Linked DNA regions of Homo sapiens: regions 1, 2, 3, 4, 5 and 7 are each linked to region 6. The links are contacts of gene promoters, found by promoter capture Hi-C in blood cells and fetal thymus (Javierre and others, 2016). All regions are on one chromosome and are shown on one strand. Each heading gives the region's core, a stretch centred on a gene start or on the middle of the fragment in contact. The rest is flanking DNA. Distances are from core to core; before and after follow the strand shown. Region 1 overlaps HS1BP3 (HCLS1 binding protein 3). Region 2 overlaps PUM2 (pumilio RNA binding family member 2). Region 3 has its middle 6.4 kb from the start of PUM2. Region 4 overlaps LAPTM4A-DT (LAPTM4A divergent transcript). Region 5 overlaps PUM2 (pumilio RNA binding family member 2). Region 6 holds the start of SMC6 (structural maintenance of chromosomes 6). Region 7 holds the start of GDF7 (growth differentiation factor 7).

What was found. The method cuts DNA at HindIII sites, captures the fragments that hold promoters and counts their contacts. A CHiCAGO score of 5 or more calls a contact.
Region 1: a contact is called between a fragment that was not itself captured here and the fragment with the promoter of SMC6 in region 6, in 2 of 17 cell types (neutrophils and naive CD8 T cells). The highest score is 10.5, in neutrophils.
Region 2: a contact is called between a fragment that was not itself captured here and the fragment with the promoter of SMC6 in region 6, in 1 of 17 cell types (total B cells). The highest score is 7.4, in total B cells.
Region 3: a contact is called between a fragment that was not itself captured here and the fragment with the promoter of SMC6 in region 6, in 1 of 17 cell types (neutrophils). The highest score is 5.9, in neutrophils.
Region 4: a fragment that was not itself captured here is called in contact with the fragment with the promoter of SMC6 in region 6 in 1 of 17 cell types (naive CD8 T cells); the score reaches 6.9 in naive CD8 T cells.
Region 5: a contact is called between a fragment that was not itself captured here and the fragment with the promoter of SMC6 in region 6, in 3 of 17 cell types (neutrophils, total CD8 T cells and total CD4 T cells). The highest score is 8.3, in neutrophils.
Region 7: the fragment with the promoter of GDF7 here is called in contact with the fragment with the promoter of SMC6 in region 6 in 2 of 17 cell types (neutrophils and naive CD8 T cells); the score reaches 8.0 in neutrophils.

Annotation. Positions count from the first base shown.
Region 1 is chr2:20,643,396-20,646,957 of GRCh38, reverse strand. HS1BP3 (HCLS1 binding protein 3) reads left to right here. Exons shown (of 7, transcript NM_022460.4): 2 at 1,453-1,618. Among named protein-coding and RNA genes, the nearest start is that of HS1BP3, 5.9 kb to the left of the region's middle. The HindIII fragment of the contact is 4,461 bases long and covers 1-3,562 here.
Region 2 is chr2:20,301,383-20,305,296 of GRCh38, reverse strand. The region is part of intron 7 of PUM2 (pumilio RNA binding family member 2); the gene reads left to right. Among named protein-coding and RNA genes, the nearest start is that of PUM2, 48 kb to the left of the region's middle. The HindIII fragment of the contact is 1,184 bases long and covers 688-1,871 here.
Region 3 is chr2:20,355,496-20,358,942 of GRCh38, reverse strand. No RefSeq gene overlaps it. Among named protein-coding and RNA genes, the nearest start is that of PUM2, 6.4 kb to the right of the region's middle. The HindIII fragment of the contact is 4,865 bases long and covers 1-3,447 here.
Region 4 is chr2:20,059,181-20,063,021 of GRCh38, reverse strand. It overlaps LAPTM4A-DT (LAPTM4A divergent transcript), which reads right to left. Exons shown (of 5, transcript NR_187142.1): 2 at 976-1,241. Among named protein-coding and RNA genes, the nearest start is that of LAPTM4A-DT, 9.0 kb to the right of the region's middle. The HindIII fragment of the contact is 3,831 bases long and covers 63-3,841 here.
Region 5 is chr2:20,333,905-20,337,784 of GRCh38, reverse strand. The region is part of intron 1 of PUM2 (pumilio RNA binding family member 2); the gene reads left to right. Among named protein-coding and RNA genes, the nearest start is that of PUM2, 15 kb to the left of the region's middle. RefSeq lists an enhancer at 3,581-3,640. The HindIII fragment of the contact is 1,234 bases long and covers 1,643-2,876 here.
Region 6 is chr2:17,751,819-17,755,509 of GRCh38, reverse strand. SMC6 (structural maintenance of chromosomes 6) reads left to right here and starts at 1,700. Exons shown (of 28, transcript NM_001142286.2): 1 at 1,700-1,884; 2 at 2,446-2,532. It overlaps GEN1 (GEN1 Holliday junction 5' flap endonuclease), which reads right to left and starts at 1,372. Exons shown (of 14, transcript NM_001130009.3): 1 at 1,165-1,372. RefSeq lists silencers at 1,585-1,724, 1,865-2,224. The HindIII fragment of the contact is 9,742 bases long and covers 90-3,691 here.
Region 7 is chr2:20,664,848-20,668,526 of GRCh38, reverse strand. It overlaps GDF7 (growth differentiation factor 7), which reads right to left and starts at 1,383. Exons shown (of 2, transcript NM_182828.4): 1 at 897-1,383. The coding sequence starts at 1,287. RefSeq lists enhancers at 704-823, 1,810-2,640 and silencers at 1,304-1,453, 1,494-1,543, 1,614-1,723. The HindIII fragment of the contact is 16,143 bases long and covers 1-3,679 here.

The DNA.
Region 1 (3,562 bases), core at 141-2,640, 2.9 Mb before region 6:
CAGCTCCACCTCATGCCGGGTGAGACCTGGGCAGGCACTTTCCCTTTAGGGGTCTGTTTCCCTGTATTTTAAGTGGGTCTGGGTAGCAGAGCTCCTTCGCAGGGTTGCAGGAGGCGGAAGTGACTTCACACAGGTGCATCCCTAGAGCCCAGCGCGTCTCCCCTCAGCATCCAGCCTCACCTTCCTCCTCCACACTGGTGGCAGTGACACCGTGGGTGACACCAGGCCGCGCGTGCACACTGCGTGAACTCGGTGCCGTTGGCAGAGGGCTGGCTGTGCGTGTGCACCTCCCAGTGCCCATTCGGCCCTTGCTGCACTTTTCACCACCTGAAGGCAGGTTGCCTGGGGTGCCCTACGCCGCGGGAGGATATTCCTTGTGTGTACAGCACTCAGTCATTGGGTGTCATACATGGCATAGGAGACGCATCACTGTAGGCCTCACCAGTTGGTGACAGCAGCGTTGTGCTGGTGACAGCGTGGCCTAGCGTGGGATGTGAGGGGTCCGTGTGGGAGGAGTGCTGGGGCAGGGGGATTTGATGGATTGGGGTATAATTCCAGAGAGGGAAGGGCCTTGCCCCAGACACAGGTTAAGCTCCAGAAGCTCCTCCCGTGTTTTCAGGGTCCTGCCCAGCACACAGGAGGTCTCACCTCGATGGTCAGAGCTGCTCAGAGGGTGCCCCACGTGTCCTGCCAGAGGTGTTTGCGTGAGGGATGTTAGTCTGCACAGGTCTGTGTCTCACCTTATGTAGGATGAGGGATGTATTTAATAACTTTTTCCACTTCAAGAAAAACATCTCATCACTTCTTTGCTCATCATACAATTCATTATATTCGAATTGCATTTTACAAATCTCCAAGAGCGGTGATGTTTTGCCGATGCATCCTCTCTACACCTCGAGGGGCAGCATCGACTGCCCAGATGAGGGACGGGCCTATCAGTGCCTCTCTGGGCCACGGTGGGTCACAAGGGTCCTGCCTCCAGTGCTCGTCCCGTGTCCCCCCCAGGGGGCCTGTAGCAGCCCTCCTGCCCATTAGCCAAAGAGAGGTGCCTGTCTCCAGCTGGGATTTCAATCCCTTGCTGTCCCTGCAGCCCCAGGCATGTTCCTTGGTCTGAGTAGAGGCCCTAGGATGCTGCTCCCACCCATTCTGCACAGAGTTTGTGTCGATCCCTTTCAACAAGCCCCATCCTTTCCTGTTTTCCTGCAGGGAGCAGACCTTTGTCCCTGAGCAACCCAAAGGCAGGACCAGGTCCGAGGCCTCGAGGCCTGGGAAGCCAGGCTTATGAGGGCTGGTGTGGCGGGATGGGTGGCCTGGAGCAGTGACCACTGAGGACAGCCAGCAGAGTCACCTGGCACCCAGGCCTGCCAGGCACCCAGAGGCCCTGCCTGCACTTTGCTCGGGAAGCCTACTGCCTTGACCCTGAACCCCACCTGCCTTCTTTTCCCCTGGCAGGCGACTTCAGAATGCCCACACTGGCCTCGACCTGACTGTGCCCCAGCACCAGGAGGTACGGGGCAAGATGATGTCTGGACACGTGGAGTACCAGATCCTGGTGGTGACCCGTCTGGCTGCGTTCAAGTCGGCCAAGCACAGGCCCGAGGATGTCGTCCAGTTCTTGGTGAGCCGGAGGCTCTGGCCAGGATGTTTCGAGGGTGCCCGGGGTCCGGGCGGGCAGACACATCTGCCCACCAGGGTTCAAGTAGCATCCAGAGCAAGTGCTTCTCTGTCTGTTGCTTGCTCAGGGCCTGGAGTACCAGACCATGCTAGACAGAAGGGACACAGGGTGAATCAGACGCTCTCAGTCCGTGGAGAGGCAGACCTCTAAAGAGACAGATACAGATGGGGACAGGAGCACCTGGGGGGCTCTGGGGGTATAGAGAAGGGGCACCTAACTGACCCTGGGGAAACTTCTTGGAAGAGGCGGTGGCTGAGCTGTGTTTTGAGGAACAGATGGGGCTCAGCAGGAGAGGTGAGAAGGGTGTCCCGGGCAGACAACACATCCTAAGCAAAGGCACGGAGGTTGGAAATAGGACATTGAGTGGGAACTCTGCACAGTTGAGTGTGGTCCTGGGAGGAAGCGGGGAAGATGAAGGTGAGTGACAGGCAGGATCCAGATTGTGGAGAGTCTGCGGGAGCCTGGACTTAACCTGCAGCCAAGGAGAGTTTTAAGCAGGGGAGTGACGTGGACCCTTTTGCCTTTAACCAGCCAATCTGCTGAGAGCATGGAGTTGGATTGGAAGGAACAAAACAGGTGTCAGGGAGCCCAGATACATGGCCAATATGGTCATTCCCAAATCAAGGGCTTGGAGCAGGCCAGTTGCACTTGGTATGGAAGGGAAAGGGAGAGTTGAAAATGTTTACTGGGTAACATGCACCACATTTGCTGACTGTTTCCACCAACTGAAATAAAGAATATGATGGAGGAGCAGACCTAGGGGGCATGTGGAGTGTGAAGTGTCTGCCCTGTGGATGGATACATGAGGCTGGAGCTCGGGACGAGCTCAGGCCTGAGATGTAGGCTTGGGAGTCATCAACTTGGAGGTGATATTAAAAATCTGGGAGTGGATCAAGTTGCCCAGAGAACAGAAGTGGAAGGCAGAGAGAAGGGCTGAGGAGGAAATCCTGAGGATGCCAGGGGTTCAGGGACTCTTGGGGAGAAGGAGGAGTCTGCAGTTGAGGCAGAGAGGAGAGAACTGGGTGGGTATCTACGGAGTCAGAGGAGCTAAGGGAGGAGAGAATTTCAAGAGGGTTGAGATCACACACTCATTGGCTTATTATTTACCATTTGGCCTCTTGTGAAAAGGACCTGCAGCTGGAGACCAAGAGACACAGGTCCAGGATTATTAGGACAAAGGTGAAATGAACTAGACCCCGAAGTACAGCAGGGAGTGACACGGGGCTAGCTTGGAGTCTCCTGGCAACCAAGATAAAAAGGGAAACGATGAGTTGCATCTTTCTGGTGACCTGTTGAAAGAGACACTAAATTTTAAGAGAAATTTACAGCACAAATGTTTCCTTTTTTTAAGAGATAGGATCTCCCTCTGTTCCCCAGACTGGAGTGCAGTAGTGTGATCATAGCTCAGTGCAGCCTGGAACTCCTGGGCTCAAGCAATCCTCCTGCCTCAGCCTCCTAAGTATCTAGGACTACAGGCACACACCACCATGCCCAGCTTTTTCTTTTTTAATTTTTTTGGTAGACATAGTGTCTTGTTATGTTGTCCAGGCTGGTCTCAAACTCCTCAAGCTGGGCTTAAGCAATCCTCCTGCCTCAGCCTCCCAAAGTGCTGGGATTACAGGTGTGAACCCCCACGCCCAGCCACACAATTTTAAGGGACATTCAACAACGTCATGAGAAGCGTCTAGAATAGCAATGCTGTTTTTCATTTGATTGCTCCTGTGGCCGACTCTTGGTGAGAAGCAACGTGTGATGTCAGGGGTGATTCTGGGCCTGCATTGCTCTGAGAGTGAATCTGCTTTACAGGGTGCTTTGCAGCTCCTGGTAATTTGACTTGATCCAGGTTGGAGCTCAATGCACCCACATTTTCAGAGACAGGAGCAGAAG
Region 2 (3,914 bases), core at 30-2,529, 2.6 Mb before region 6:
TCCAGGCTGGTCTCGAACTCCTGGGCTCAAGTAATCCACCTGACTCAGCCTCCCAAAGTGCTGGGATTATAGACATGAGCCACTGCGCCCAGCCATTTCTTTCTTATTTTAATGCCTTAGAGTATTTTAATAATATTGGACTTACGTAATCTTTAAAGATGTGGCAGAACTTTCATGTGTGAGAAACCTAATATAAATAAATTTGAAAACCTAGAAAGCATAGTGTATCAAAATTGACCCCACATTTTAACTCAATTCCACAGTTAAGCAAATTCATTATTGACAATCTTTTTTATCCAAATTTGCCTGGTCACCTCTTAGCTGGCCAATAGCTCATTTAGAAAAGGACTAGTCGATAGAAATATGTATAATATGTACCATATAATTTGCAGTTATTTAGTAATCACATTTTTAAAAATTAAAAAATAGGTGAAATTAATTTGAATATTTTATTTAGCTCATATCCAAAATATTGCAAAATGTAGTCAATATGGAACTTACTAATGAGAATTTTTGCATTCTTTTCTTTATATTGTTTTTGAAATATAGCTGATCTCAAGTCAGCTTTGAATATAGCTGATCTCAAACTAGTCACATTTTAAATGCACAGTGACTATATGTGGAAAATTTTTAGAGTGTGAGTTGACAAATGTCTTCTGTACAAAAGGCTGTTGAATATTTAAAGCTTTGCATACCATATGGGTTTGGTCACGACCACTCCACTGTGCTGGTAAAGCATGAAAATGGTTATTAGATGATGCATAAATATTGCTATGTTCCAGTAAAACTTTACTTATGGGTGCTGAAATAGGAATTTCAAATAATTTTCATGTGTTTGAATTTTATTTTTTTGAACCATTTAAAAATATTAAAACTATTCTTAGCTAGTTTGTACAAAAATAGGTAAGACGCAGGCTTAACCCATGTACTTGGCCAGACAGAAATAATAGATAGGATAGAATGAAAACAAAAAGACAGGGTTATGTAGTTGGTTGGAGAGTTCCTAGAGTACAAGGAGTTGAGGGAGAATCCATAGGGGGGTAAATTGGGAATAAAGCCAGGTGACCTACAGATGGCTAGAAGAGGAATAAACAAACAAAAAGGGGCCTATGCAGTTCAGGCTTTGGGGGTTGAGTTGTAGTAACCATGTAAGAGCTCCCCCAGCTACTAATAAAAGACCTGGTTTGGAGATTTGACCCTATAGTATGTAGTTTAGGCAATAATTCTGATACCACATAATGAACAAGTGAGTGCAAGAGAAACTCTCATGTAAGATAATGTTTCAAACAAAAATGACAGTACAAAGAAGGATCAGCCAGAAAACATGTCGCAGAGTTCTAAGTTATGGAAGGGAACTTTAAAGTTGTGCAAAGAATGTAAGAGTATTTTCAGAACCTTAAGAGATAAAGGGTGTGAGCCATCAGAGATTATCAGAAGTCTTAAAACAACAGATTGCTGTGAAAAGGAGCCATTTCATGGTCTTGTAAATAAGTCATTGAAAAAATAGTTCTAGGTGAGCTGCATAATTGGCTATCACCTACCGCTAAATGAATTAGGATATAAAACGTAGATGGTCGCCCAGAACACTGAAATTCCCTATGGTAATCAAGACATGGGAAATGTAAAGGAGAAATGAAAAGCTATGGAATGAGTTAGGGAGTAAGTAAGGATGTACAAAGCATTTGTAAAGAAAACTGTAAACTTTTCCAGAAGTCTTGAATAAATGGAGACGTGATTTTTCTGGGCAAAACTCAGCATTATAAAAATGTCAGTTCTCCCTAAATTAATGTGTGTATTAAATATACTCTTGGTCAGAATCCCAGCAGGTTTTTTTTTCTCTTTTGAAAAAAAAAAAAAAAAACTTGAAAGCTTGATTTTGATGTTTGTCTCAGAAAAGTAAATGGTACTTTTCTGTCACCCAGGCATAGAGTGCAGTGGCCTATGGCTAATTGCAGCCTCGACCTCCCAGGCTCAAGCAGTGCTCCCAGAAAAACCAGAAAATTAATGGAAAACTAAAATTAAAGCGGAGGAGGAGGACTTGCTCAACCATATTGTTTCCGAGCAGAAGCACTCACTGCCTGATGCAGTAGAAGCCAATGCTATGGCACCAGGTTTTTGAGAAAAGAAAAGCTTTTTTTGTAGGTCAACCAACAAGGAGACAGGAATCCAGCTCAAGTCTATCTCCCTGTGCTGGCTTTAAGGGAGTAATTTTTATTAGAAAGGCCTTAGGGGATGGATTTTGAGATTATTAAGTAATTGGTGGAAGAAAAGGGGAGGCCTGGGAAGTCCTCAGCATGCACAGCTATCTCTTCATGCCACCTGATGGGTCGCATGTGCAAATTGCGGGAGAGTTAGTATGAAGCGTGGTGGAAATTTGGGCTGTGATGTCAGCAAGCTTGTTCTGCACAGACTGCAGTCCATATTGGTTTTAACCGATTTCAGCCAGTTTTGTTATCTTAGAGAGTTTCTGCATTTCTTTCTGCAAATTTGAACAGAGTTTCTGCATTTCTTTCTGCAAATTCTTTCTTTTCATATCTGCCATCCTGCAAACTCAAGAATTTTCATTAGTCACTGCTTTCTTTAACTTTTTGGAGCACAGTTTCAGTTTTTTAAAACAATTACTATGACAATTAAAATAGTGTGGTACTGGACTCAAAATGTATGAGTAGATCATTGAACAAGATTACTTTGAAATAGATCCATGTGTGCATGCATGCTTGTTTAGGGTAGAGTGATGAGATGAATTTCAAATCAATGCCAAAAGAATGATTATTTGGAAAATAACTTGGGGGGGCGGTTATTGGGTCTCATTCCTAATGGACTGAAATTTTTAATGAGAAAAACAAAAGCATAAAAGATTTGATACAATTTCCTTGTTGATAGCCAAACAACCATGGATTAAAACAAAATTTTTAAAAAATTTTTTAATTTACCTATTAGGTTGGCGAGTCTTCAGAATGTTTGATAATGTCCTGTTTTGGCAGGAGTGTAAGTGGCACTCATACTTTTGGAATGTAAACTGGTACAGTTTTCCTGGAAAATAATCTAGAAATGTGGATCAAGAATTTATATGACAGAAACAGGAAAGTCAGGTGTGTTGGCACCTGCCTTTATTCTCCGCTACTGGAGGTTGAGGCGGGAACATCAGTTGAGCCTAGGAGGTCAAGACCAGCCTGAACTCTGCAACATAGTGAGACGTTGTCTCTTAAAAAGAGAATTTATGTTTTTGTCTGTTGAAGTAAATTTTTTTTAAGGATATAGTAATGTACAGACCTGTGTATCTAAAGAGAATAATAGCATTATTTATTTATAGCAAAAGATTATGAACCATCTAAATATATAAAAGTAGTAGATTGATTATATCATGTTCCTTCTATACAGAAGACTACATATTATGTAGCCATTAAAAAGAATGAGTGGCTGGGCACAGTGGCTCACGCCTGTAATCCCAGCATTGTGGGGAGGTCAAGTTGGGTGGATTGCTTGAGCCCAGGAGTTTGAGACCAGCCTAAGCAATAGGCAAAACCCTGTCTCTACAAAAATCAGCCAGGTATGGTAGTGCGTACCTGTAGTCCTAGCTACTCAGGAGGCTGAGGTGGGAGGATCGCTTGAGCCTGGGAGGTGAAGGCTGAAATTAGCCATGATCATGCCACTGCACCCCAAGCCTGGGCAACAGAGCAAGACCTTGTCTCAAAAAAAAAAGGATGAGCTAGGTTTGTATCTGTAGACAGAGATTTATGATTAATTGGTAGGTGAAAAAGTGTATTAAAGTACAGTTATAGATTAGAGTACAAAATGAATGAGTATATATGCGTTTAAAAGTATGTATACATATCAGGAAAGGTTACATGAGGATTTTCACTTTCCACTTTATATCTCCCAGTATTTGAATTTTTAATAACAATCTTTTTATC
Region 3 (3,447 bases), core at 470-2,969, 2.6 Mb before region 6:
GAGATCGAGACCATCCTGGCTAACACAGTGAAACCCCATCTCTACTAAAAATACAAAAAAAAAAAAAAAAAATTAGCCGGGCGTGATGGTGGGGGCCTGTAGTCCCAGCTACTTGGGAGGCTGAGGCAGGAGAATGGCGTGAACCCAGGAGGCGGAGCTTAAAGTGGGCCCAGATCACGCCACTGCACTCCAACCTGGGCGACAGAGCAAGACTCGTCTCAAAAAAAAAACAAAGAAAAAAAGAAAATAAATGATAAAAATATTCTATATAGACGCTGGGTGCATAACCTATGAATTAGCCCTGCTCCACAAGGAGCAGCACCATTCAATAAAAGATTGCAAAAATAAGATTAATAAAAATATTCTATAATTGAATGTGGTCATGGTTGCATATATTTGCGAATATACTAAAAACCATAGAATTGTACACGTTAAATTGTATAGTGTGTGAATTATCTCTCAATAAATCTGTTTAAAATGTAAGAACTAACAATGTTATCTAAAACAAACTCATTTAAACACAAAAAAAGAAGACGCAGAAAATCTGACAAGGCATGGGCAAAGATGTTTTACAGAAAGACATAAAGTCACATTTTCTGAAACCGCTGATGCTAGAAAAGAATATAATAACATGACTTCAATAAAATAAGTTCCAGAAGATGATGCATCGATTAAGGTCTGGTCAGAAAAACAGAAACCACATTGATTATTTCAACAGAGAGAATTTAACATAGGGAATTGGTTAAATAGGCACTCAAGAGATGGCAAAACAAAAAGGGTTAGTGAGGTAACACAGAGTGAGTAACTGCAGTAAGCAGCCACCACCCCTGGGGAAATAAAGGAATAAAGGGAAATAAAGGAGAGAGGTGGATGTTATCTGAACCTTCTATGTAGAAGAGAAGCCCCAAAGAGTTGGGACATGGACCTCTGAGGAAGGGGTACCCTGGATGCTCCTGAGTTCGAAGAAGAGGCCCCGTGGAGCTGGGTCTTAGGCCTCTAGGGAGGGGTGCGGTCCAGCTGCTGCTTATTCCTCTGAGGGGGTAAAACAAGGCTAATTCTATTCTAATCAGAGAATGCAAGGGAAATTGGAAACTGGAACCAGCTGCTGCAGTTGGGCTGACATACCGTTCTGGGGTCATTCTGACAAAAATTACATGCGAACAGGAAGGAGCGAAAGACTTCTCCTTTCTTCTGCCTTCTTTTTTTTTTTTCTTGAGATGGAGTTTCACTCTCGTCGCCCAGGCTGGAGTGCAATGGCACCATCTTGGCTCACCGCAACCTCCGCCTCCCAGGTTCAGGCGATTCTCCTACCTCAGCCTCCTGAGTAGCTGGGATTACAGGCATGCACCACCATGCCTGGCTTTATATTTATATATATACTTTATATATATATATATTTTATATATATATTTTACATTTTTTAAAATATATATATATATATATATATATATTTTTTTTTTTTTTTTTTTAGTAGAGACCAGGTTTCTCCATGTTGGTGGGGCTGGTCTCAAACTCCCGACCTCAGGTGATCTGCCCACCTTGGCCTCCCAAATTGCTGGGATTACAGGGGTGAGCCACCGCGCCCGGCCTTCTTCTGCCTTCTATCTTTTTGCCACCGTGCCTGGCCTTCTTCTGCCTTCTAATCTTTTTCTAGTTGCCCACTATTTGCAGAGCCTAACAGAGAGCTAGCTGTTAAGAGGTGTAGTTTGCAGATTTCTTCTATAATTTTTTTTTTTTGAACAGTATCTCGTTATGTTGCCCAGGCTGGTCTTGAATTGCTGGACTCAAGTGATCATCCTGCCTCAACCTCCAGAGTGTCTGGGACCACGGGGGCATGCCACTATGCCTGGCTAATACTTTTAAATTTTTTTTGTAGAGATGGGTTCTTGCTATGTTGCTCAGGCTGGTCTTGAACTCCTGGGCTCAAGTGATCCTCCTGCCTCAGCTTCCCAAAATGCTGGGATTACAGGCGTGAGTCACTGTGCCTGGCCATTCACATTTTTATAAAATTAAAAGAAATACATAAAAGAAGAAAAAAGCAAAACCTGAGGATAGGTGTTATTTAACAAAAGAGGAAAGCATTTTTATTTTTAGTTTGTTGTTGTTGTTGTTTTGAGACAAGGTCTGGCTCTCTCGCCCACTGGAGCACAGTGGTGTGATCTCAGCTCACTGCAACCTCTGTCTCCCAGGCTAAACCATCCTGCCATCTCAGTCTCCCAAGTAGCTGGGACTACAGGCGCACACCGTCATGCCCAGCTAATTTTTTTGTATTTTTTGTACAGATGGGGTTTCACCATGTTGCCTAGACTGGTCTCAAATATGTGAGCTCAAGCGATCCGCCCTCCTTGGCCCCCCAAAGTGCTGAGATTACAGGCATGAGCCACTGTGCCTGGCCAGGAGGTCATTTTTAAACATGAAATAACTTGCAATATGAGGATATCATGGAATGAACAAAAATTTTTTTGTAATTCCTCCCATCAAAAGATAAAGTCTTTTGAATCTGGGCTGGCGTCATGATTTGTTTTCACCAATAAATTGTGGTGGAAGGGATACTATTTGAGTTCCAAGCTGAGCCCTCTCAAGAGGCCTTGCAGCTTCCATTCTTAGTCTGCTACCATGTGAACAAGCCTGAGCTAGCCTGTTGGAGAGACTACAAGGTGCCTTGGCTGATCACCAAACCTCAACCATTAAGTTAAGCCACCAGCTGACTGTTATTGCATAAGTGAGCCAGGAAAGATCCACAAAACCTCCCAGTTGAACCCAGCCAAATTCACCAACCCACAGGTTGTGATCGAATAAACAAATAATCGTTGGGGGTAGTTTGTAACACAAGTAAATGCTAACTGATACATGATGAAATCTATATAAGCAAATCAAAATGAACAGGTCAGAAATAGAGCAGTGAACAATGAATATACTTAAATACTGAAATTAAGACAAATCAACAGGGAAATCATGGATAAAATAGAATGTAAATATCATAAAACCTGACGAAGTATTTTTTGACAAAGTATTAATATAATAAAAAATTATAAGCAAAAAATTAGGAAGGACAGGGAAGAGGTGGTAGAAAGTCAGACTGTTTTTTTATTTTTGAGACAGAGTCTCTCTCTGTTGCCCAGGCTGGAGTGCAGTGGCACGATCTTGGCTCACCACAACCTCCACCTCCTGGGTTCAAGTGATTCTCCTGCCTCAGCCTCCCAAGTAGCTGGGACCACAGGCGCACACCACCATGCCCAGCCAATTTTTGTATTTTTAGTAGAGATGGGGTTTCAGTATGTTGGCCAGGCTGGTCTCAAACTCCTGACCTCGTGATCCACCCGCCTTGGCCTCCCAAAGTGCTGGGATTACAGGCGTGAGCCACCGCGCTCAGCAAAAGTCAGACTGTTAATCTATCTTCAATGGAAAGGAATTCAGCACTGATCAATACTGAAACATACAGTTTGA
Region 4 (3,841 bases), core at 729-3,228, 2.3 Mb before region 6:
CCAGATGGAAGGTAGGCAGGCTTGGGAGGCTCAGTGAAGTATCATCTAGCTACGCCAAAGCTTACGTTAGAGGAGAAGTATTTAAGTATGGGTTTGAGGCCTCATGCTTCAAAAGAATCACACAGAGAAATATTGTGGGCCTCTGGGAGAAATTTGAGCCTTGGCTGGCTGCAAAGCTGCATAAACAGTGGTGATGACTGTGGTTAATCCAAACCCCACTCCGAGCTCTGCAGAGTCAGTTCTGCCTATGGCTCATGAAATCCCCACTCATTACTGAACCCTTTTAGGGAGGAAGAAACTGACACAAGTAGCAGAGGCAGAAAGCCACCCTGGTCACATCATGCAACTGCTGGGAGATGCCCTGTGTCATAAAAGGTCACATTTCTAAACGGCTAATGCTAACCCCAGATGCCAAAGCTGGGCAGAAGCAGGTTTGCAGAGCTCTCTAGAATACGTGTTCTTGTGAGCTTCAATGGCCCGGTTTTCTGCAATTCAGGGCAGATGACTCCATGTCTGGGTTGCCCATCCATCAGCAAAGATTTATCAAGCTGGGCTAGTGTTAGGTGGTTTGGTATATAAAAAGATTTAGAAACATGTCCCATCCCTCCAGGAGTTTGGTCTAGCCAAGGTAGTAAGACAAACTCACACCCAGATACTGAATAAAACCAGCCGGATGTGCTCTTGCCCAGCAGCAGGCGTGGACTCTGCCCGCACAGGGAATGTGAATGGTGCCCTCTGCAGTTGTGCACCACCATGGCCCAGGCTGGGGAGCTCAGAGGAAGAGCAGATCCCAGTGGGCTGGGCTGGGCAGGGCAGGGCAAGGAGGGTGGCTGTTCTATGCCCACATCCCTCTTCTTCCTTTCTCAGGTGGCAGTCACTGGCTGAGTTTTCTAGCCAATGGCAGAGGGCATGAGACCCAGGGACAGGCCTGGTGAAGGGCTGGATAAAGGAGCATCACAGGGGAGGCCCACTGACCTGGCCACGCTTCCTATTCATGCCAAGTCCCATGGGGCGTTCTGTAGCATCGCTGCACCCCAGCCAGCCAGTCTTCAGCCTTCTGTCCCTCTGTCCCTCTGTGCCCCTTGAATGGGGCCCATCGTAGGTTGACTGGGCTAGCTCTTTGCCCCGCTTGTTGATGCCACTTGTCATTTCCCATTTTTCCAATCAATCATGTGATGTGAAGGGCAAAAGGAAAGTGCCAGCTTTCCCAAATGCCTCCCCTGATGCCTTTCCAGAGGGAACTGTGAGAAGTAAATGTTGTTTATTAGTCACCGGGTCTATTGTATTCCACTATAGAAACCCACATGGACTAAAACATCAGTCCAGCTTCCCTGGATGGTTTCCCGGAATCCACCTCCCATCTCATGAGATGGCAATGGCTATCACAGCTCGGAGGAATCTGACTCCACTTTCACTATGAAAGTTTTGTCATGTTGAGCTTTTATGAAGTTACATTTACTTCTTGGATTAACTTAGAAACAGCCAAATTATACCCATTTCTTGGAGTCTATAGCTGTGTTTTAGTTTGCCCTTCTTTTAAAGGAAAGTCTAGAATCCAATGCTAATAAATACTTTGATTAAAATGTACTCCTTTTAATGAGATCATGTCCTTTGCAGGGACAGAGATGGAACTGGAAGCCATTATCCTCAGCAAATTAACACAGGAACAGAAAGCCAAACACAGCATGTTCTCACTTAAAGTGGGAGCTAAGCAATGAGAACACATGGACACAGGGAGGAAACAACACACACTGGGGCCTGTTGGGGGCGGGGGGCATTGCGGGGAGGGAGAGCATCAGGAAGAATAGCTAACGGATGATGGGCTTAATACCTAGGCGATGGGTTGATCTGTGCAGCAAACCACCACGGCACACATTGACCTATGTAACAAACCTGCACATCCTGCACACGTACCCCAGAACTTACAATAAAAGTTGAAGACAAAAAAAAAACCTATACTCTTTTTAAGCTACACAAAAGGAAAGGAACAGATCTTCCTCACACCCCTCAAAAGAAATGAACTCGACAAACACCTTCATCAGGAAGGTTGCCAGAACTATGAGATAATCCATTTCTTGTTTAAGCCACCCAGTTTGTGGTCTTTTGCTATGGTAGCCCTAGCAAAACAATGCAGATGGTTTCTCTTTTTAAATTGTGTAGCCAATATCTTTTTGCTCCTCCTCTGAAATAAACCAGGTTCCAGGAGGACTTGGGTGCCACCAGGTCTGCTCACCGAAATCCATTGACAAGATGCCACACATTTCCACTACATGGTGAGTCCCTCACTTTAGGAATCATGTTTACTGATGCTTTCTGGATTCTGCTGCCACTTGAACCTCATAGCTCTTTGCCAGTTTCTCCTATATGGCTTCTGTCTAATCTTAGCTGCTCTCAGCAGCCCTGATTCATATTTTGAAGGCTATGGATTATATCTGCTCCCAAATTTGCTGAAGATAAGTTTACATTTTTTGTTGTTTTTGTAGCATTTAAAAAAGAAAAAAAGAAGAAAGATGCTGAATCTATGTTACCACATTCACACCAGAAGTCCTTAAAGTTAACATTTAATCCCATAATCCTAAGTAGTGAATTCAGCAAAGCGCATGGAAAGCACTTTTCCCATGGTGATAATTACATAGTGCTTTTCATCTTCAAGGTAGTTGGCCAACACTTACTAATTAATTCTTCTAATACCCTGGAGCAATTAAAAATAAAAACCACACATTTAATTTGACTAGAGGAGATAATTACCAATATCAGCAGACAAGAAATCCTGCAAGGGACTAGAGATGAATAATTAAATTGTGGTGGAAATATTTCAAGGCATGATTGCCTTCTGCTTTCATTACAGTAAGAACATTAAACCTTGATTAAGAAAGAAATCTTATTTCCCTTTTACAGGTGAAGAAACTGAGATTCAGACAAGGAGCTTTTTGTTAAGCAAATACTAATTAGCCAATAATCTAAATGGAAGTTAATGGAGAATTGTTTAAACTCAGTGCTATGGTCTGAATGTTTGTGTCCCTCCCAAATTAAAATTAAAATTCTAACCCCAAGGTGATGGTATTAGGAGGTGGATCCTTTGGGAGGTGATTATATCATGAGGGTGGAACCCTCATGAATGGGATTAGTGCCCTTATATAAAAACCCCCTCACCCCTTCAACTATGTGAGGACACAGCAAGAAGATGCCATCTGTGAACTGGAAAGCAGGCCCTGATCAGACTCCAAATCTACTGACACCTTGATCTTGGACTTCCCAGTCTCCAGAACCATGAGAAATAAATTTCTGCTGTTTATAAGCTGCTCGGTTTATCGTAATTTGTTATAGCAGCCTGAATGGACTTAACACCTATGGTATTAAGAATTTTGAGGCCAGGCATGGTGGCTCATGCCTGTAATCCCAGCATCTTGGGAGGCTGAGGTGGGTGGATCAATTGAGATCAGGAGTTCGAGACCAGCCTGGGCAACATAGTGAGACATCGTCTCTATTTTAATTTTTTTTAATGAAAAGAAAAAAGAATTTGAAAATCCTAAATCTGCTTTTCGCCTCTATTAAAAAATCTTCAGGTGGCAGCTCTTAGTATCCTAGAGTCACATTCTGAATATTTGTAACCATTGTCCACAAGGGCAGTCAGAAGGCTCAAGTTAGTGGTTTCTAAACTTACTTTTTGGTCTAAAACCTCTTCATACTCTTAAAAATTATAGAGGACAATGAAGAGCTTTTGTTTATCTAAGGTAACTACTGATATATCCTTTACTAGAAAGGAAAATAGAGACAATTTAAAAATATTTCTAAATTGATTTTAAAATGACAACAATAAGTCCATTATTGGTTAATATAG
Region 5 (3,880 bases), core at 1,010-3,509, 2.6 Mb before region 6:
AATCAGTTTTTGGGAAAATTTTTCATACGCTAGTCAAAAGTATGTTTGAGGAAGTAATAAGCCAAATTAAGTTCATATGAAGGCTTGGACCCTAAGTGAATTAAAAACTGCAGTTTATAAATGTTTTAAAAATATTTTTGTCTGAATTGTGTAACTGACCTTCAAGGCCCAGCTTAAATACCACCTGCTTTATGTGGCTTTCTGTCAGACTGCTATATGTATTTTATTAAACTTTATTTTTTTCTAACCACCTAGCCTTTTCATTTATTAAACTTTATTATGGAAGCTTTCAAACATGTAGAGAGAATAGTAAGTATTGTGAACCCTTGATAGCTACCGTCCTTGTTCAACATTGTGTGAAATCTTATTTATACCCATATTTTACTTTTTGAAGGAGTATTTCAAAGTAAATCCCAAACAATATGCCATTTCAAGCATAAATGCTTTTACTGATGAGGACTTACAAAAAACAAACCCAATCCTCTTGCTAGTATCATAACTAATAGAATTCCTTACTGTTATCTAATACTCATTCTATATTTGAGTTTCCCTGATTTTTCTCAAAAAAGTCTTTATAGTTGGTTTGTGAGAAGCAGGCTTACACAGTTTTTTTTTTGACATTTAGGCCTATACCACAGTCTGTGTAATCTGCTTCCCCCGCTTCAAAATTTTATGTCATAAATATGTATTTAGATCAGTAGTTTTATTATAATATTAGACAAATTGAAGCTTAGTGTTTTTTGAAGGCAGTTCTTCATATGTGGTGGTACTGTTTCATATTACATTATGAATCATATAATGTCTTACTCCACTATTAGGATGATGTCACATTTTAAATCACAGAAAATAATTTAGGAATACTAGGCCAGGTGTGGTGACTTATGCCTGTAATCCCAGCACTTTGGGAGGCCGAGGTGGAAGGATTACTTGAACTCACGAGTTCCAGATCAGCCTGGGCAACATGGTGAGACCCCGTCTGTACCACACACACACACACACACACACACACACACACACACACACACACACACACACAGATCAGCCTGGGCAACATGGTGAGACCCCGTCTGTAACACACACACACACACACACACACACACACAAATTAGCCAGGCCTGGTGGCACCTGTGGTCCCAGTTACTCAGAAGGCGGAGTTGGGAGGTTCCCTTGAGCCTGGGAGGTCAAGGCTGCAGTGAACCCTGATTACGTCACTGTGCTCCATCTTGGGCAACAGAGCAAGACCCTGTCTCTTTAAAAAAAAAAAAAATTATATCTTTAACTTTAGAACCACTTTTTAGGCCAGGCACATTGGCTCATTCCTGTAATGCTAGCATTTTGGGAGGCCAAGGCAAGGTGCAGATCACTTGAGTTCAGGAGTTCAAGACCAGCCTGGGCAACATGGCAAAACCCTGTCTCTACAAAAAATACAAAAATTAGTTGGGCATAGTGGTATGCATTTGTAGTCCCAGCTCCTTAGGATACTGAGTAGATGGATCACTAGCCCAGGAGGTCAAGGCTGTAGTGAGCCATAATCAATGCCACTGCACTCCATCCTGGGCAATAGTGAGACCCTGCCTCAAAAAAAAACAAACAAAAAAACAAAAAAACGCTTTTTGTGTTATGTAAACAGTTTTCTAAAGCTTGTCATCTTCATTTCCATCTAAATTATTTGACCTGCTTCTCTCAGACAATACCTAAAGCATCAAAACCCAGCATAGATTGAGGCTGTTTAGTGTGTAGATCTTATCTAAGTAGTATATTTTTCAAAATAAGGCAACTTTTCTTCAGCAGTATTTTGATTCTCCAAATAAGTCAGTTGAGAGGATGCCTTATAAGAGGAGAAACTTTTGTAAGGACCCAAATATATGGTGATTCCCCTTTCAGAGAATTTTAATGGAACAAAAATCTTATGTTTGCACATATATAGATTTGTCTAAATGATGGGGTTGGAATAAAACATTAAAAGATTTGAGCTTTGAGCTAATAGGGTCTTTGAAGGAGATTTTTGGCTTCTGTAAGTCTGTATGTTGACAACACTAATTTTTATGCCAAATTTCATTCAAAACATAAAACTTTACTTTTCCTTATTATAATTGAGTCAGTAATACTATTCTTTGTTATAGAGCTTTTTTGCCTTGCTAGTAAAGCCAGCAGAGGTAACTCCCCCATGAAAGTATTTGGACAAACTAGAAAACAGACTGTTGATTTAGCTCTTGGTTGACCCACTAGCTAAGTGACTTGTTCGTCACTGAAAAACTGTATGATTCAATTTATGCCCTCAGAAAAATAAGAAATTACCAAGAGTTGGTTTGAATAGTAGAAACTTTGTTAAATCTTTAAAGGCTAATGGTCTCCTATAAATACCTAAACCTGGATTTAGATTTACTTTTGTCATGTGAATGAGAAAAAGCATTGCTAAACAAAAAAAGTTTGTTGGCAGATTTGCAATAAAGTGATTTAATTTGCTGAGCAGAAGAAAGTATTCTTTAGGAATTCAGCACTTGTTTGTTTGCCGTAGATACCACGGATGTTCAATGATTATGTTCATTAAAATCAGTCCAGCTGGGTGCAGTGGCTCACACCTTTAATCCTAGCACTTTGAGGGGCTGAGGCAGGAGGGCTGCTTGAGCCCAGGAGTTTGAGACCAGCCTAGGCAACATAGGGAGACCCCTGTCTCTACAAAAAATACAAAAATTTGCTGGGGGTGGTGGCATGCACCTTTAGTCCCAGATACTCCCGGAGACTGAGGTGAGAGGATGCAGAGAGCTATGATTGCCCCACTGTACTCTAGCTTCGGTGATAGAGTGAGACCTTGTCTCAAAAAAAAACAAAACAGTCCAAGGAGGATGATTACGGAGAATATGTCCTAAGAAGCTTAAGTCACTCTGTGTATTGACTTATTTGTGACTCAACTAGGTTTTTATGTAATTTTGTTGTCTTTGTAATTGATGCAAAAGGAAGGTACAGTCTCCAGGCTGTAGATGACAGACTTGGAGAAGTAGTGCCTGTGTGAAGTTGCAATCATTAGTCATTTTGTGTTGGTAAATGTCTTCAGCAGTACAAAAAGTCTAAGCGAAAGCCTTGTTCATTGTCCTTATGTTAAAATAAGCATTGTATGTTAATATATGAAGATATGTAAATACTTAGTCACTATCCAGATACTAATTGATTTTATGATCGGAATTCACATTTCATAAAATATGGTTTTTTTCATTCATTAAATGTTGAACGTTTACATAGCTAAGACAGTCACTAATCCCTTTGACCCCAGAGGTTAATTTCTACTATGGTGTTAATTTATAATTACAAGATTATAAAAGTGTGATTAGTACCATGTGGCAGTAGAGTGCTTTAATACCATTTATTGTATCTCCAAATGCTTTCCCCACCCTGTTTTTAATGTAGGCATATGGTAAGAAATTGAACCAGATATCCAGGAAGAAATAATATTTTTAATTTAAAAAATTTTTTTGAGACAGAGTCTTGCTTTGTCACCCAATCTGGAGTGCAGTGGAGCGGACCATGGCTCACTGCAGTCTTGACCTCCCAGACTCAAGCAGTCTTCCCACCTCAGCCTCCTGAGTAGCTGGGACTACAGGTGCATGTCACCATGCCTGGCTAATTTTTTAAAAAAAAATTTTTTTTGTAGAAACAGGATGTATTTAAAAATGTCTGAGACTGGGTAATTTAGAAAGAAAAGAGGTTGAATTGTCTCATGGTTCTACAGGCTGTACAGAAAGCATAGTGGCTTCTACTTCTGGGGAGGCCTCGGGAAACTTAGAATCATGACAGAAGGTGAAGTGAAAGCAGGCACCTCTTACGTGGCTGTAGCAGGAGGAAGAGAGGGGAAGGTGTTACATACTTTTAAACAACTAGATCT
Region 6 (3,691 bases), core at 451-2,950:
TTTTCATATGAATTTAGCCTAAACGTTGAGGCATACTTCACGTTTATCAATAAATACTTATTAAATGTCTACTATTTAACAGGAAAGCTTTATAGGTGCTGGAGATACAATAATGGAAGATCAAGCCCTGCATTTAAAGACCTTAGTAGGGTAAGTGAGACTGCAGATAAAAAGGGCTTAAGAGGTAAGAAAGCAAGCTATAGTTGTATTTAGGAAAAAAGGTCCCCCACTTAGGAATCAAGGAACGGTTCCTGAAGCAAGTGACATGTAAGTAGGGACCTCCCAACCGTGTTTCCCATTGGTTACAACAAGGCCAGATGTTTTGGTCTATTTTGACTATGTCATATTTTTCGTTGATCCATGGCAAGGGCCACAGTAGGAATATAATATATATGTGATTACTTTTAGAAATAAAAAGTGACTTTGATGTAAAGAATTCCATTACCGGAGGCCAGAATTTCAACATCAATTTATTTGGAGGTGGAGTGAGGTGGCAGTCAATGCATTATTTTCCCCACACAGAAGAGAAGATTTTGGAGTATGAAAAGTAGGTTACTTGTTAGGTCAGCATATTCATGGGAAGGGTTGTGTAAAGACTGAAGCGGGAGTGTGGGGTTGAGAAGGGCGCTGAAACCTAAGCCAAGGAAGTTAAGACTTCATTACTTCTGACGTTTATTTAGGGGGTTTACACTCTAGGTTACCGTGGGGGAAAGACTGATTGTAAATAACTACAATACCTTAAAGTAATTACTATAACAGAACTATATCCGAAATACAAGGTTAACACGGAAAAGGGAACACCCAACTGTGCCTATGGGGACCAGGGAGGGCTCTCCCGGGATGGCTTTGAGCGAGGCGTGGGAATTATCCCCATCGCATGCCCGGGGGAAGCACAGCGGGACCCAGCAGCTTCGGCCAAGCGCAAGCGGCCGGAGAACGCGCAGCTTTCCCGAGGCGGGGTGACGCAGGGCCCTCGCGAGTGGAAAACAGGGGCCAAGTCGCGGCCTGGCGGCTCGGTTCGGACTTCCTACTTTATTCAAAGGGAGTCATTGAAGGCGTTTTCGGAGGAGCAGCGAACAAAGAGCTCGTCCGTAAGCCAGATGGTCAAAGGAATCAGTGGGAGGACCCGGGCGGCGCCGTCTCTCCACGTCCCGCGGGACTTACCCGGACAACCCTTCCTCCTTGGCTCTGGAAGAAGCCCCTTCGTCATTTACCAGTTTGGCCTGAATCCTAACTACTGTGCCTCCAAATTTCTGAATTTTCTCAAAAGGAAAAAAAAAAAGGAAAGTCCTCTTTCTTTACCCAAGCAAAGACTAGCTCCCCGGGCTCAACCGCCAGGCCCAGGAGCACCAGGAAGCGTTTCGAATCCAGCGCCGGGCCCGCGCGGCCCCGCCTCTTCCGGGAAGTGACTGACCCCTTTCCCCCAATGGGGCCCGCTCGGCTTTCCCTTGCCGGCTCCCAGCCGGCCTAGCGGACGCATGCGTAGACCAGCTGCCGGGGGCGCTCAATTATCTTTCCCTTTTACTTAGGCAAATCACTCACCTCCCCCGAGTCCGGTCACTGCGGAGCCGCCCGTGCCTACCAGCTTCCCCCACCCGCTAAGGGGCACTTCCGGCCTCTCAGACTCCGGCGGCGCGAAACCCCGCAACTGCGCAGGCGCGGGCGGAGCCCGAAGGGAGGGAGGGCGGGGCGCAGGCGCGGTTAGTACCGCGGTGGGCGCCGGGGCTCCCGGGAATCTACCTTCTCCTGCGGCCGGCACGCGGTTCCCAGGGGGCCAGCGGCGGTCAGCCGAGGTCGAGACGCCCGCAGGGTGGCCTTAGCGGCCGGTCGTACCACGGCAGCCCCGCCGATCAGGTTCCTTTGGGAGACTTCGACTTGTTGGCGGTAGGGTGAAGGCGCGCGCTGTCGCTTTCCCTTGCTCCGGGGTTCATCCTCCGCCCGCTGCCCCCTTGGCTGGCGACCCCCAGCCACCCGGGAGAGGCAGGGTCAGCTGAGCTGCGGCGGTGTTCATGGTCGTCCTTGCGGGCCCGGGCGGGAGATGTCCGTTCCTCGGGCGGGTCGGGCGGCCGGCGGCACCTTCGCGCGCTCTCCGAGGCGGCACCGGTCTCCTGAGCCGCGGGAAACCTGGCGTCTGCTCCGGGCCGTCCCCTCCCAGGCGGCCGTCCCCTCCCAGGCGGCCGTCCCCAGACTCTCCCGGGCTGTGGCGAATAACTGTAAAGCGGGGAGAGGTCTGGGGAAAGCTGGGGTAGGGAGTGGCTCTTAGCATGAGTCTGATGATATCTCGCAGGCGGCAACTGGTGTGTTTAAAGGGTGTATGCAAAGATCACTGAAATCGGATTTGTCATTAAAGCCCAGTTTTACGAAAATGCAAATTGTATTACCTAGAAAAATTAACATGTGTTCAAAGGTTTACTGATGGCATTTCTCTGCCCTCATTTCTTACAGAAATGAACCGGAGAAGAATCCCAATTGGGAATTGCGGAAAACAGGACTCTAGGGTAGAGAAAGGTTGTAGAACCAATAGGGTTTGAGGTAATACTGTGAAAATTCTTAGAGCAATCATTTGGTGTTTGAGCCCTCAAGACAGAAGTTTTGTGAGCGCTTATTACTCTGCATATGTCACGAGTAGTAGATTAAAAGCCAGTGTTTTAAAGGCAAACTTCTCAGTAATATATATTCAAAGGAAAAAAGAAAAACCCAAATCTCCTGACTTTTATATGGTTGCAGTGTGATCTTTTAACATGTACAATAGTATATACAGTGGCATGCAGTTTGTTCCATGGGTGTGTGGGTAGAGAGGGAACATATTAGAACTTCTATTTAGATTTATTTCATTTGATTTCTACGTGAAACATAGGGTATTAATTTTATGTTGGAACATGTATTTCAAATTTCTTTTGCTTAATGGGTGCAAGTACAAAACGTTTGGAGGCCACTAGTATATTGCCTAAAAGCGTGTATTTATATCACAAAAAGCCAGAATTGTGTGACTCTGAGCAGGTTGGTACCACCTCTTTAAGTTTCAGTTCTTCTTATGCAAGTTGGAAGAAATAATACAGTTATCAGTGCATCCTCTGTATCCGTGGACTCAATCAAGGGACTGAAAATATTTCAGAGGAAAAAAAGTGGATGGTTGCACAGACTTTTTTTTGTTCTTGTCATTATTCCCTAAACAGTACAGTATAACAACTATTCACATAGCATTTGCATTGTGTTAGGTTATATAAGTAATCTAGAGATAACTTTTAAGTATGTGGGGAGGTTATATGCAAATATGACACCATTTCATATAAGGGACTTGAGCATCTGTGGATTTTGGTATCTGAGTGAGAGAGAGGGGCTGTCATTTTGGAACCAATTCTTAGGGATTGACTGTACCTAGCTGACAGGATTCTTAAATATGTGGACACAGAGAGGAAGAGAAAGTTATGTAGTTATATATCGACATCTGTCTGCAATCCGTATAAACCAGTTAGTATTGAGCCTGGCAAAAAGTACACAAGTCATGTTAAAGGTATTACAGTGAAAAACAAGTTTTATTCCCCAAAGGTTTATTTTACTGAGTGTATTTTACTGAATCTGTAGAATTTTATGTAAAACCTACCTAAATCTTGACTGTCATTTTTAGACCAAAGTTAGGAAAAATAATTAAAGCTGTACTTGGCTTACTTTTAGGAATTAGTAAGTAACT
Region 7 (3,679 bases), core at 134-2,633, 2.9 Mb before region 6:
TACTTGCATTTCCGCCTGAAATTAGGTAAATTTTCTCTATCTGTCTGCTTTAATGATTTCAATGGAGATTAATAAAATCCAGATGACATACAGCAGCCACACCACAGCCTCACCTACATCTTACCTTTGGAAGGCCCAGGGCAGAACAAGGTGGGGTGCTTAGTCTAAGAGAGGCCTGCATTCCTGCAGGGTCCCCAGCAGGCCTCTCCTCCCCACACCACCAGGATCCTTGACCTCTGGCTCTCCCAGGGGCCCAGCACCAGACACAGGCACCCATAGCTGCACATGTCACACACACACAAACCACCACCACCCAGACCAACCTGCTGAGCAGGGCACTCCTCATACCTGGTTATGCCACCAGCCTCTCCAGGGCCATTTACTTTAGTCTGATACCTGCCTCTGCCCTAGTTTTCCCTGGGCTTCCCCCAATTTGTGTGGCCCGCAGGAGACTGGGAGCTGCAGAAATTGCTGCAAGGAAGGAGCCATCACCCTCACCACCGTGCAGTCCCTCTCGCCGTGACTCCCGGGAACACAGCTCTTGCCCTCCTTTCTTCTCTGAGGGCTCCGAGGCCACTCCAGACCATTCCCCAAGAAGCGAATCTTGGCCTCCGCCTGCCTCCTCGAGGGGACCAGCCGGCCTGCAAGGCCAGGGAGACCTGGGAGAGGGACCAGTCAGCCCTCTGGGACTGGGCCCCGGGAGCTGCCGCGACTCTCGCCACAGTCCAGGTGCAGCGGGCTGGAGAGTGTTGGCCTCGGCGAAGTTTCTTTCTATCACCTGAGGGTGGGCCGCATGGGGCCGCGGCTCCAAATGTAACGGAGCTGCGGCACGGCTCCGGGGCTGGTCTCAGCCCAGGACCTGACGGGATGGGCGGGCACAGAAGAGGCGTAAGTACCTTGGGTCGCCTGGTCTGTGAAGCCGGTGATCGTGTCCGCGCGACCATGGCCCGAGGCGGAGACAGCGGCTGCCCCGGCCGGAGCCCTCCCGGCCAGGCTCCGGTAAAGCGACATCATGAAGTGGTGCGGCACCACCGAGCCGTTCCTGAAGCCGGAGCCCGCGGCGCGGCGCGCGGCGCGGGCCCGGGGAACCGCGGCGGCCGGGACAGCCGCGGCGCCCGCAGCCTGGGCAAGAGTCCGCCCGCCGCCGCCGCCGCCGCCGCCGCCCCCTGGGCTCCGGACCGGCCCAGCCCCCGCCGCTCGCAGCACGGCGGCCGCTTCCAGCCCGTCGCGGGGGCGGCAGGCGCTCAGCAGCCAAAGGCACAGCGCGGCGGCGGCGCTCAGGTCCATGGGCTCCGTGGGCCGGGCGGGCGGGCGGCGCGGGCTCCGTGGCTCCGGGAAGTCCCCCGGCGCCTTTTGAACATAGTGTTTAATAATGGGGGAAGTGTGCGCGGCCAGCCCGCGGCCCCCCCTCCTGGCCCACCCCACCCCCGCCCAACGCCCGGAGCAGCGCCCCCTGCTGAAAGCTCCGGCGGCCGCTATGCGCCCCCCACCCCGGCCTAGAGTGGAGACCAGGGCCGGAGCCGCCTCCTCCCACCGCAGCGCTACGCCCCCACCCTCGCCAAGCGACTGCCACTGGCCCCAGCCTCCCGACACGCCTCCCCGCGGCAGTGCGACACCCCCTCCATCCGCCCAAGACCAACGCGCCCTCCGTGGTTCCAGGCTCGGGGCACCGCGCGCACCCGCCCAGCTTCCTCCCCACTCCCCCGCAGAGAAACACCCGCCCCCTCCCTGCCCTGGTTCCCAATGCCGGGAACGGGGCGGCAGAGTTGGGGCCGCGGAAGGGCTCGCCCTCCAGACCGCTTCGCGCCGCGGCCGGGTGGCCGCGCAGAGAGAGGCCACAGGATGCTCCCGGCGGCCTCAAAGTCGCGTTCCGGATCGCGGGTCGGCGGTTCCCCACTCAGCCACAGACCCCAAAGGATTGCAGCGGGCGGCCAGAGCAGGGGAGGGGGCCGGTAGGGGAGGAAGGGAGGGCGAGGAGCTGAAAGGGCAGGCCTGTAAGAGACCTTTGGACGCGGACCGCCCGTCGTAAAAGCAAGGTTTGGGCGCGGAAGTTGCGCTTCAGCGGGAGCCAAGCTCTAGAAAGAGCTCGAAATGAGGACGGCAGCCCCGGGTGATGGGGGATCTCGCGCGGGAGTGCGCTAAGAGTTTGGCTGTGCGTCCAACTGGCGACCTTCCACCCGCCTTCTGGGCGAGGGCAGCGGCTAACGAAAACCAGCTACCGGCTGTGTGCGTGAGCGGCCAGGAGCCGGGAGAGCGGACGGCGCAGAGCCCCGGGATGGCGCCTCCGAGCTTCTTACCCCGCCGCGGTGATGGCGCGGGTCCCGAGGTGGATGGAGGGGACGCCCGGCAGCGGCGAAGCCCTGGGGCGCACTCGCGCGGGCCGCAGAGCAGTTTGCTCCGCGGCTGGGACAGGTTGCGGAGGCCAAGTCTCAGGGGAACGCGCAGGAGAGGGGGGTTATCGGCTCTGCTCCGCCGGCAGCCTGGACATCCCCCTAGATCGGAAACTTTCAGCTGATCGAAGGCCTGGGCCAAACGAACTGCCGAAGAAGGGCAGGCGGGTCCTTTTCCTTTAAAATTGCATTTTCTGCAGAACTCAAAATCTAGACTGGGTCGGCACGTCGTGATCACCTTGAGCGGGTGATCAGCTTCAAAGCGAGGTCGCCCGCCGAATCCAAAGCCGCCTAGGTCCCGACGCCTGCCTGGCTGCGCTGCGCTGGGACCCACAGAGAGGCCCGGCCCAGGCTCCCCAGTTCCCCTGCTCCACTGCTTCGTCCCAAACGAACTCCTCAGCCATTGCCCTCTCGGCCACCGCGGAGACGCGGCGCCTGCTCACCTTGGGGCATTGAGCCGCATAACACTCGAGAATGTTTGCGGGTGGGAGAGAGAGGCCTAGTGAGGTTCAGTCCTCGCAGACCCCAAGGCCGATCTATGCCAAGGAGAAAGGCCTGACATTACCGGGAAGGGCGGACCCCTGGACCAGGGTCAGCGCTGCCGGCGCTGAGGGACTTCTCCTAGCAGGAGCCTGGGGAATCTGGGATGATCGAGCTGGGATAGTCCACCCTGCTTCTAGGACTGGGATTGGAGAGTCGGTGACAAACACCGCCGCCCCCACTCCGCCAGCCCCCCGGTCTCTCCCTGACGCGGATGCTGGGTCCTACTGTGTTACTTGGCTTCCTTTCCCCCTGCAGCCATGCGCCCGCAGTGTTTGGGTGTTTTACAAATCAACTCGGCTAAGATTTGTGCAAACACGCGGGGAGTCCTGGGTGACAGCAAGTCGCTTGCCTTGTCTTGGCTTCAGTTTACCCGGCTGTGTAGAGCAGAGAGCGGAAGGGTCCTAGCACATTCTTGGCACAGCCAGTGACAAACGTTTGTTGATTACATGACACCCCTGCCACGTTGGGGCTTAGGAATGAGGGATGCACCCTTGCTGTCATTGTGGGAGCAGGCCACTTAGCCTCTTGGAGACCGAATTTCCTAATCTATAAAATGAGCGGATTCTCACCTCATCCTGTGTGTGGCTGGCATAACAGGCTGGCACAGAGGAGGTGATGTAGTCTTGCCCCCAACCACCAGTGTGTTCCCAGTGCCAGGGGTGATCATGGCAGAGAGAGAAGCAGCTTCTACGCACCTGGAAGGCTTTGGAGGACACACATGGGGTGGGCTAATGCTGCTGGAGCCA